Linked DNA regions of Homo sapiens: region 2 is linked to region 1. The links are contacts of gene promoters, found by promoter capture Hi-C in human tissues and cell types (Jung and others, 2019). All regions are on one chromosome and are shown on one strand. Each heading gives the region's core, a stretch centred on a gene start or on the middle of the fragment in contact. The rest is flanking DNA. Distances are from core to core; before and after follow the strand shown.

Region 1 (3,942 bases), core at 980-3,479:
CAGGAAGGAAACACACCAACTGCATGGCAGGCAGAAGGCTCCTTGGGGGGCACGGGAAGGGAAAGGAGGGATGGGGAGCCAGGCCTTTGGTTGTAAGTGTAATCATTTATTTCTTTTAAAAAAAGGACCTGAAGCAAAATGGCAAAATGTCCACATCTATTCTATATAGGTACAGGGGACATAGAGGACTGTTATATTTTCTTCCTTTTTTTTTTTTTTTTTTTTTTTGAGATGGAGTCTTGCTCTGTTGTCCAGGCTGGAGCGCAGTGGTGCGATCCTGGCTCACTGCAACTTCCACCTCCCGGGTTCAAGCAATTCTCCTGCCTCAGCTTCCTGGGTAGCTGGGATTACAGGTGCAAGCCACTACACCTGGCTAATTTTTTTGTATTTTTGATAGAGATGGGGTTTCACTCTGTTGGCCAGGCTGGTCTCGAACTCCTGATAGGTGATCCACCCTCCTTGGCCTCCCAAAGTGCTGGGATTACAGGCGTGACCCAACGCGCCTGACCTGAAATAAATATTATTTAATTAAAAAACTAAAAGCATTACACTAGAAGAAACAGACCAAAGAGAAATCTAAAGAGATCAGTTGGACAGAGGAAGGTGGTGGGAGGAGGGCCTCTCTTCCATTGGCCGGTGGGAGGCAGCAAATGTCAGATGGTGGATGGGGGTTTTAGAGGTGGGGGTTAGCATGAGAGGTAGGGCACGGCGATAGGGGGGGTGCTGTCCATGCAGAGGGAATAACCAGTGCAAAGGTCTTGGGGTAGGAGGCAGGAAGGTGCCTGGTGAGTTAGAAGAACAGCGGGTAGGCTGGATGGGGGGTGTGAGCCAGGGGGAGATGAGGAGCTGAAGTCAGAGAGCTGACAGGGGCCTTGGGTGCCAAGGTGAGGACTTTGCTTTTACCTGGAGTGAGGTACAGCTGGGGCAGGGCTCTGAGCCAGGAGGGTAGTTAACTGACTCAGGTGGTCCCAGGCTCTCTCTGGCTGCAGGTGAGAACAGACAGTAGGGGCAGGGATGGGAGCAGGGAGATCAGGCAGGAGAGGATGGAGGCTGGGCCAGGGCGTGGGCAGCGGAGGAAGAAGAGTTTAGAATGGAGCGATTGATTTTATACGTGGAGCCCACAGTTTGTGACGGATTGGATGTGGTGTGAAGGAAAAGAGAGGGTCAGAAAAGACTCTGAAGTTCTGGGCCTGCCATTCATCAAAATGGAGAAGTCAGGTGGGCTTCTTTTGCAGGAGGAGGGGAAGGGTTGATGGAGAGGGTTGGGAAGGGAGTTTTTTCAAAAGAGGCGGGGACAGCGTACCCTGGAGAGCGCTGGGGAGCCACAGCCCCGGAGCTGTGAGGTGGGACTCGCATTTCTGTGTGGTTGGGCCAGGAGTCCAGGACACCACCTGACTCTGACCTCTTGCAGACGGGGCGGGGGAGGGGGGACGCAGGTTATGGCGTCAGAGCAGGATCGAATCCAACTCTGCCGCCTACCTACCAGGTGACCCCAACAAGTCACTTCCCATCTTAGAGGCCGGGCTTCTCCTTCCGTAAAAGGACTGATTTTGCCCGTTCCTGCGCTGTCCCCGGGAAAAGCCCTTACCACCGAGTTAGTGGGACTCCCAGCACTGGGGTGATGAGCGCAAGGTCTCAGCACAGATAAGAGCCAGGGAGGCTGGATTCTGACTTGGTACTTGGCCTGGCTGACCAAAACTGGGAAGTCCCTAGAAACGGAGGCACCGGACCTCCTGGGACCAGGAACCCGGGCTCAGAGACTGGGAGAGGGAAGGAGGAGGCGGCCAACCGGCCCCACCCCTTCCCGCCAGCTTCAGGCCCCCTCCCCCATACATACACCTCGGTTTCCCAGCATCTCCAGTCCTCCCCCACCTTCGCCCCGGCTCTCAGGTTCCTCCCTGGGAGGTCCAGGAGCTTCTGGCCAGGGGCATAGTAGTTGCTAGGGACCCTTTTCTAGGTACTAGGGGAGGGGGCTCCCCAACCTGCGGGCAGGCAGCTGCCTCCACGATGTTTGGTTTTAATAAAGTCTCTTTGTTTCCTTCTCTGTCTCTCTGCCCCTCTGCTTTCCCTTCTCTGTCCAGTCCCTCTCTCCCCGGCTTCTCCCTCCTTCTAGGCCTCTGCGGCCCCTCCCCGCCTTCCCTCCCGGGCTGGGGGCGGCGCCGTGACGCGGCGGGGCGGGGGAAGGAAGGGGGTGTCGCTGACGCCGCGGCGGCCTCCGGCGGCTCCGGCCTTTTGTGCGGGCGGTTGGGTCGGGTGGGGGCGGCGGCCGCGGAAGGCCAGGCCGGTGCCCTGCGGGGACGCCCAGCGCAGCCCAGCCCCGCGCAGCCCAGCCCTGCCCTGCCCTGCCCTGCCCTGCGCCCGGGGCGCGCCCACCGCGCCGCATCCATGTTCGAGTAAGGACCGGGCGACTAGAGCTCAGGGACCGGGCGCGCGGGGGAGGCCACCGGAGGGAGGGGGCGCCGCGGGCTTGGGGAGGGGGCGGAGCGGCCGCTGCAGAGGTCGGGGGCCTCTGCACATGGCTCTGGCCGGGGCGATCGGGGTGGGGGCGGGGCAGGGGGCCCCCGGGCGAGGGGTGCAGCTGGGGAGTGGGGCGCGGACGCAGGGCAGGGCCCGGGGTCTGGGTCGCCACTGCCGGCCCGCGACGCACTGGGTTGCGGGGTTTGGCTGGGGGCCCGCGGGTTCATCTGGCGGGGAGGGCCCTCAGGCCTGGCAACCCCCTGCCTGGTAAGCCAGGGGTGAGCGCGAGGCCGAACTGGGGCTCCGGCCTGGGATGGAGACAGGATCGGGACCAGCCCAGGCCCACAGGCCGCGGAGCCCTGGGCGCGCCGGGAGTAGGCAGCCCCCTCCTGCCTGGGCCCCCTCCCACCGTCCTTGGCTGTTGCGGGTCTCGGGGCTGCCGGGGGTGGGGGCTTCCTGCGTCTCTCCAGGACCGCGTGCTTGAGGTCATGGAGGGCGGGGGGTCCTGTGTGCTCGGAATTGACTTCTTACTCCCCTTCCGGTCCAGGTGGGCGCATGTGCTTCCGACTGTGAATTGTCTTGCAAGTGTGTGTACGTGTGTCTGGGGCTGCTAGCCTGCAGCAGCTTTGGGCCTCTGATAGAGTTCCTGCGTGTAACTTAACCACTAATTCTGACCGCGGCTCTGTGTGTCACTGTAAGTTACCTGTGTGTGTCTGGGGCTCCAAATCTGTGGCTGTGAGCAGCTGGTTGTGTGCGTGTTGTGTCTCATTCCATCTGTAGCTCCCTGTGCAAATATAAATTACCCCTGTGTGTCTGAGTGTGACGTTGGAGTGTTTGTACATGTGTCTGGAGTTACCGTGTGTAGCAGCTCTGATCCTTCTTGGGCTGTGTGTGTTTTACCATTAATTCTATCTGTAGCTCCAAGCGTTGCTGTAAGTTACCAGTGTGCGTCCCATTGTGACTTAGTGGTGTGTGTACAAGTGTGCCTGGGGCTCTGGGTTCTACCATGACCCTCTGTGCCTGCATATGCCTGTAATTTAGCTCTGAAACGCTCTTCTTTTTTTTTTTTTCTTTTGAAATAGAGTCTGGCTCTGTCGCCCAGGCTAGAGTGCAGTGGCACGATCTCGGCCCACTGCAACCTCCTCCTGCTGGGTTCAAGCAATTCTCCTGCCTCAGCCTCCTGAGTAGCTGGGATTACAGGCGTGTGCCACCACGCCTGGCTAAGTTTTGTATTTTTAGTAGAGATGGGGTTTCACCATGTTGGCCAGGCTGATCTCGAACTCCTGACCTCAGGTGATCCACCCACCTCGGCCTCCCAAAGTGCTGGGATTACAGGCTTAAGCCATCGCGCCTGGCTTGAAACTCTCATTTAGCTCTGTGTGCCAATGTAAGTTACATTTGTGACATTGTTGTGTGTCTGGGGCTCTGTGAGTGTGGCTGTAACTTAATTTGATTCCATCTTTGTGTGAACATTCCCTTGTGTAT
Region 2 (3,942 bases), core at 519-3,018, 740 kb after region 1:
GTGCGCCCCGGTCTTGTCACTTTTCTCCGGGCTCGCCTTTTCACCCCCCTCCAGCCTGCTCCGCACGAAGCTCCGCCCACTCCCGGCTTCTCTACATAAAGCCCACCCTTTCCACGCGGCCCCTATCCCGCCTCTCCAGCCATATCCATTCGCTGTTGCCCTACGGTAGCCCGCACTATCTGCACAGGCTCTGCCTGCCATCCCTGTCTGATCTGCATAAGGCCCACCGCTTAGACCCCTAAGCAAGCCTCTCTGGCCCGTAGCCCACAGACCTCGCCCCTTCCCCGCTCCCTATCACCTGCAAGCTCCGCCCAAGCAAGGCTCGGTCTCGGATTCTCACCCGGGCAGGGGGGCGGCCCGAAGCGTTGCAGGCAGCTGCTGCAGCACTTGTTGTCTGGGTTCCAGTATTCAAGGCGGCCGCAGTACTGGGAGGCTTCCGGCGGTGGCGCCAGGGCCAGAAGCAACAAGGCCGTCAGGAGGCATCGTCCAGGCCCCATCTGGGGGGCCGTGATAGCGGGACTTCCAAACACAGCGCCTCTGCTACACTTTCCGGGGAAATCGGGCAGAAGAAAGGACGCGGTGATGTGGGGGAACAGAATTCTCACGCCTCTTCGGAAGCCGGGAATCTACCCCCGAGCCCTCATCCCCCAACTGAGCCGGTTATCAGAGAAGCCCACAAGGCCACTAGGGGACTAACAGGGCTGCGGATCTAGATTGCAAGAATGCATATCCCACCTCTGCCGTGTCCTCACCCACCCACCCTCCCTTTTCCATCCCTAAAATAAGACAATGATAGCACCTGTCTCATAGGGTTATTGTGGAGAATTAGAACCGTCATTAGAAGTAAAGCAGGGGCTGGGTGTGGTGGCTCATGCCTGTAATCCCAACACTTTGGGAGGCCAAGACAGGAGGATCACTTGAGCCCAGGAGTTCGAGAGATCAGCCTGGACAACAAAATGAAACCCCATCTTTACAAAAAAAAAAAAAAAAAAAAAAAACAGCAAAGCACTTTGCCAAGTGCAGTGGCTCACGTCTGTAGTCCCTGCTACTAGGGAGGCCAAGGTAGGAGGATTGCTTGAGCCATGAATTACAGACCAGCCTGGGCAACACAGCAAGACCTCATCTCTAAAAACAAAAAAAACTGGCCGCCGGGCGCAGTGGCTCATGCCTGTAATCCCAACACTTTGGGAGGCCCAGGTGGGTGGATCACCTGAGGTCAGTAGTTCAAAACCAGCCTGGCCTACATGGTGAAACCCTGTCTCTATTAAAAATACAAAATTAGCCGGGCGTGGTAGCGCATGCCTGTAAATCCCAGCTACTTGGGAGGCTGAGGCAGAATTGCTTGAACCTGGGAAGTGGAGGCTGCAGTGAGCTGAGATCGTGCCATTGCACTCCAGCCTGGGCAACAGGAATGAAACTCCTTAAAAAAAACAAAAACAAACTAAAGTGCTGAAAACAGCACCTCACATACAGTAAACTCAGTGTTTAAGTGTAAGGCATTACTAACTCCCATCACAATTCGGCAGGCACGGAGGAGTCAGCCCCATACTGGCTGGAGACCACCTCCCAGCACCTCACCTCACCTTTGAATCCTAATCTCCTTGGGGCTAGGGCTCCTCCCACCTGCCACAACCAGGTCTCTCCCCCTTGAATAAGCCTCAGATGGAGGTGCTAAGGTTTTCAGCACAAAGGTGTCCCCACCCTACCAGTACCGTTAGGGTCCTGGGTCCCAAGCTGGCCGTGCCAAGTTCCTCAGCTGAAGTTGTGGCCAGGACCCAGTCTTGTTTCCCCTTTTCGTCACATGTGTGGGTGGAGGGAAATGCCAAACCACAGCAAAAGCAAGTTGATGCCGAAGTGAAACACGCAGCTTTATTAAGACAGGGGCGGTAGAAGAAGGTCTCCATGCTGAACAGATTACATTATGGAGCCCGGGAGCCTGGGAAGGATGGGGCAGGAGAGTGAAGGGGGCTTTGAGGAGAGGTCCTGCCAGGAACATCTGTCCCTGTTGGGGGTGAAGGGTAAGGGGGCCAGGGCCTCAGAAGCGGCCATGCCAGTGATCAGGGGAACACCGATGGTTCCTCTCTCGGGGATGGTGGCCAGTATGGAACCTCGGGGGTGACCTGGGAATAGGAGCGTTGAGAGTTCTGTTAGAACCCTGAGGAGTGGTGCAGAGATCCTGCAGGCCTGCCTCTCTGCTCTGGGATGAGGCAGGAGGGTGCTGAAATAACTAGAGTTCTAAGACACGACCTCAGTGGCCAGTATCAGGGGAACTCAGTGGCCAGTATCAGGGGTGGCAATCCAGGCTGGTCGTGGATTAGGGGTTCAGGCTGGTTTGGGGATTGGGACTTAGGTACTGGTCTCCAGATGGAGCTCAGAACTACTCTTAGGGTATAAGAGTCTTGGGAATGACCGGGCGCAGTGGTTCACGCCTGTAATCCCCACACTTTGGGAGGCCGAGATGGGTGGATTACCTGAGGTCCGGAGTTCGAGACCAGGCTGGCCAACGTGGTGAAACCCCATCTCTACTAAAAATACAAAAATTAGCCAGGCATGGTGGCAGGTGCCTATAATCCCAGCTACTTGGGAGGCTGAGAAAGGAGAATTGCTTGAACCTGGGAGGCAGAGGTTGCACTGAGCCAAGACTGCGCCTTTGCACTCCAGCCTGCGGAAGAAGAGCAAAACTCCGTCTCAAAAAAAAAAAAAAAAAAAAAAAAAAAAAACAGTCAGCCGGGAGTGGTGGCTCACGCCTGTAATCCCAGCACTTTGGGAGGGTGAGGCAGGTGGATCACGAGGTTAGGAGTTCAGACCAGCCTGGCCAAGATGGTGAAACCCCATCTCTACTAAAAACACAAAAATTAGCCGGGCATGGTGGCAGGTGCCTGTAATCCCAGCTATTTGGGAGGCTGAGGCAGAGAATTGCTTGAACCCGGGAGGCGGAAGTTGCCATGAACCAAGATGGTGCCAATGCACTCCAGCCTGGGCAACAGAGTGAGGCTCCATCTCAAAAAAAAAAAAAAAAAAAAAAGATTCTTGGGAACGTGGTTACTGGGGCTTAGGGTTAGGCTCATCTGAGGATATAGGGGCCTTAGGACATGAGGAGACATAGCAGGCTGGTCCTGAGGTACCTGCGCCTGGGTCCCCGCCCATAGAGCTGCCTCTGGAGGTTCTGGGAAATGGGCCGCAGATGCATGAAGTTGCAGAAGCCACCTCGGGTACATTCCCTGCATAGAGGGTAGAGAGATGGAGGAAGCCATTGTCACTGACAGCCCCTACCACGCATTCAAAGTCTGGGATTCCAAGTGCCCATCCCACCCTTGAACTACCATACCCCATCTCATACTGGCGACAGCATGACTCCCGGAAGTCAGTGACAGGAGACAGCTCACCGTGCACAGCCTGCCCGTTGAACCAGCGGTTACTGAGTTCAGCCACGGCCCGCTCTCCATCCTCCTCCCTCCGGAACTGCAGGAAATGTCAGTCAGGGTCAGCAGGAGAACTCAGAGATCTTCAGGGGACTCACTACCCGCTCTGGGGCTGGACTGGATTTAGTGATGAAATTCAAGCTGAGAGCCTACAGTGGCCACCATCAGGCATTGAAACGCCTCCACTTCTGGGCCCTAAGTGGGGGGCAGCAAGCACCTTGACATAGACGTTGCCCACGAGGTGGTCCCCAAGGTTGTCGCACACATTCATCTCTTCAATCTCCCCATACTTCTCCTGCAGTTCTGTGAACACCTCCTGTGGAAGACGGGGAGGAACTCAGCTGAGCTCCCACAAGAAACCCCATCTGCCCCTACCAACCCTCACCTCGAAGAAGCTATCATAGTGCTCCTGCACCTCCACGTCACTCACATGACCTGGGGTGGGGGCGGGCAGGGTGGAATCAGAGTGTAGCCTACTGGGGGCTGTTCACCTTGCCCCCAGGCCTGGTCCCTTACTCAC

What was found. Contacts are between HindIII fragments. The study calls those that stand out against the background at their distance.
Region 2: the fragment with the promoter of IGFLR1 here is called in contact with the fragment with the promoter of GRAMD1A in region 1 in 1 of the 25 tissues and cell types used here (spleen).

The regions. Positions count from the first base shown.
Region 1 is chr19:34,998,094-35,002,035 of GRCh38, forward strand. GRAMD1A (GRAM domain containing 1A) reads left to right here and starts at 2,230. Exons shown (of 20, transcript NM_020895.5): 1 at 2,230-2,393. The coding sequence starts at 2,386. RefSeq lists an enhancer at 1-290 and silencers at 2,065-2,444, 2,715-2,844. The HindIII fragment of the contact is 31,318 bases long and covers 1-3,942 here.
Region 2 is chr19:35,740,684-35,744,625 of GRCh38, forward strand. IGFLR1 (IGF like family receptor 1) reads right to left here and starts at 1,769. Exons shown (of 5, transcript NM_024660.4): 1 at 1,713-1,769; 2 at 341-540. The coding sequence starts at 497. It overlaps U2AF1L4 (U2 small nuclear RNA auxiliary factor 1 like 4), which reads right to left. Exons shown (of 6, transcript NM_001040425.3): 3 at 3,640-3,738; 4 at 3,329-3,462; 5 at 3,126-3,221; 6 at 1,844-2,120. The coding sequence ends at 2,036. RefSeq lists enhancers at 65-174, 1,522-1,951 and a silencer at 3,287-3,447. The HindIII fragment of the contact is 13,678 bases long and covers 1-3,942 here.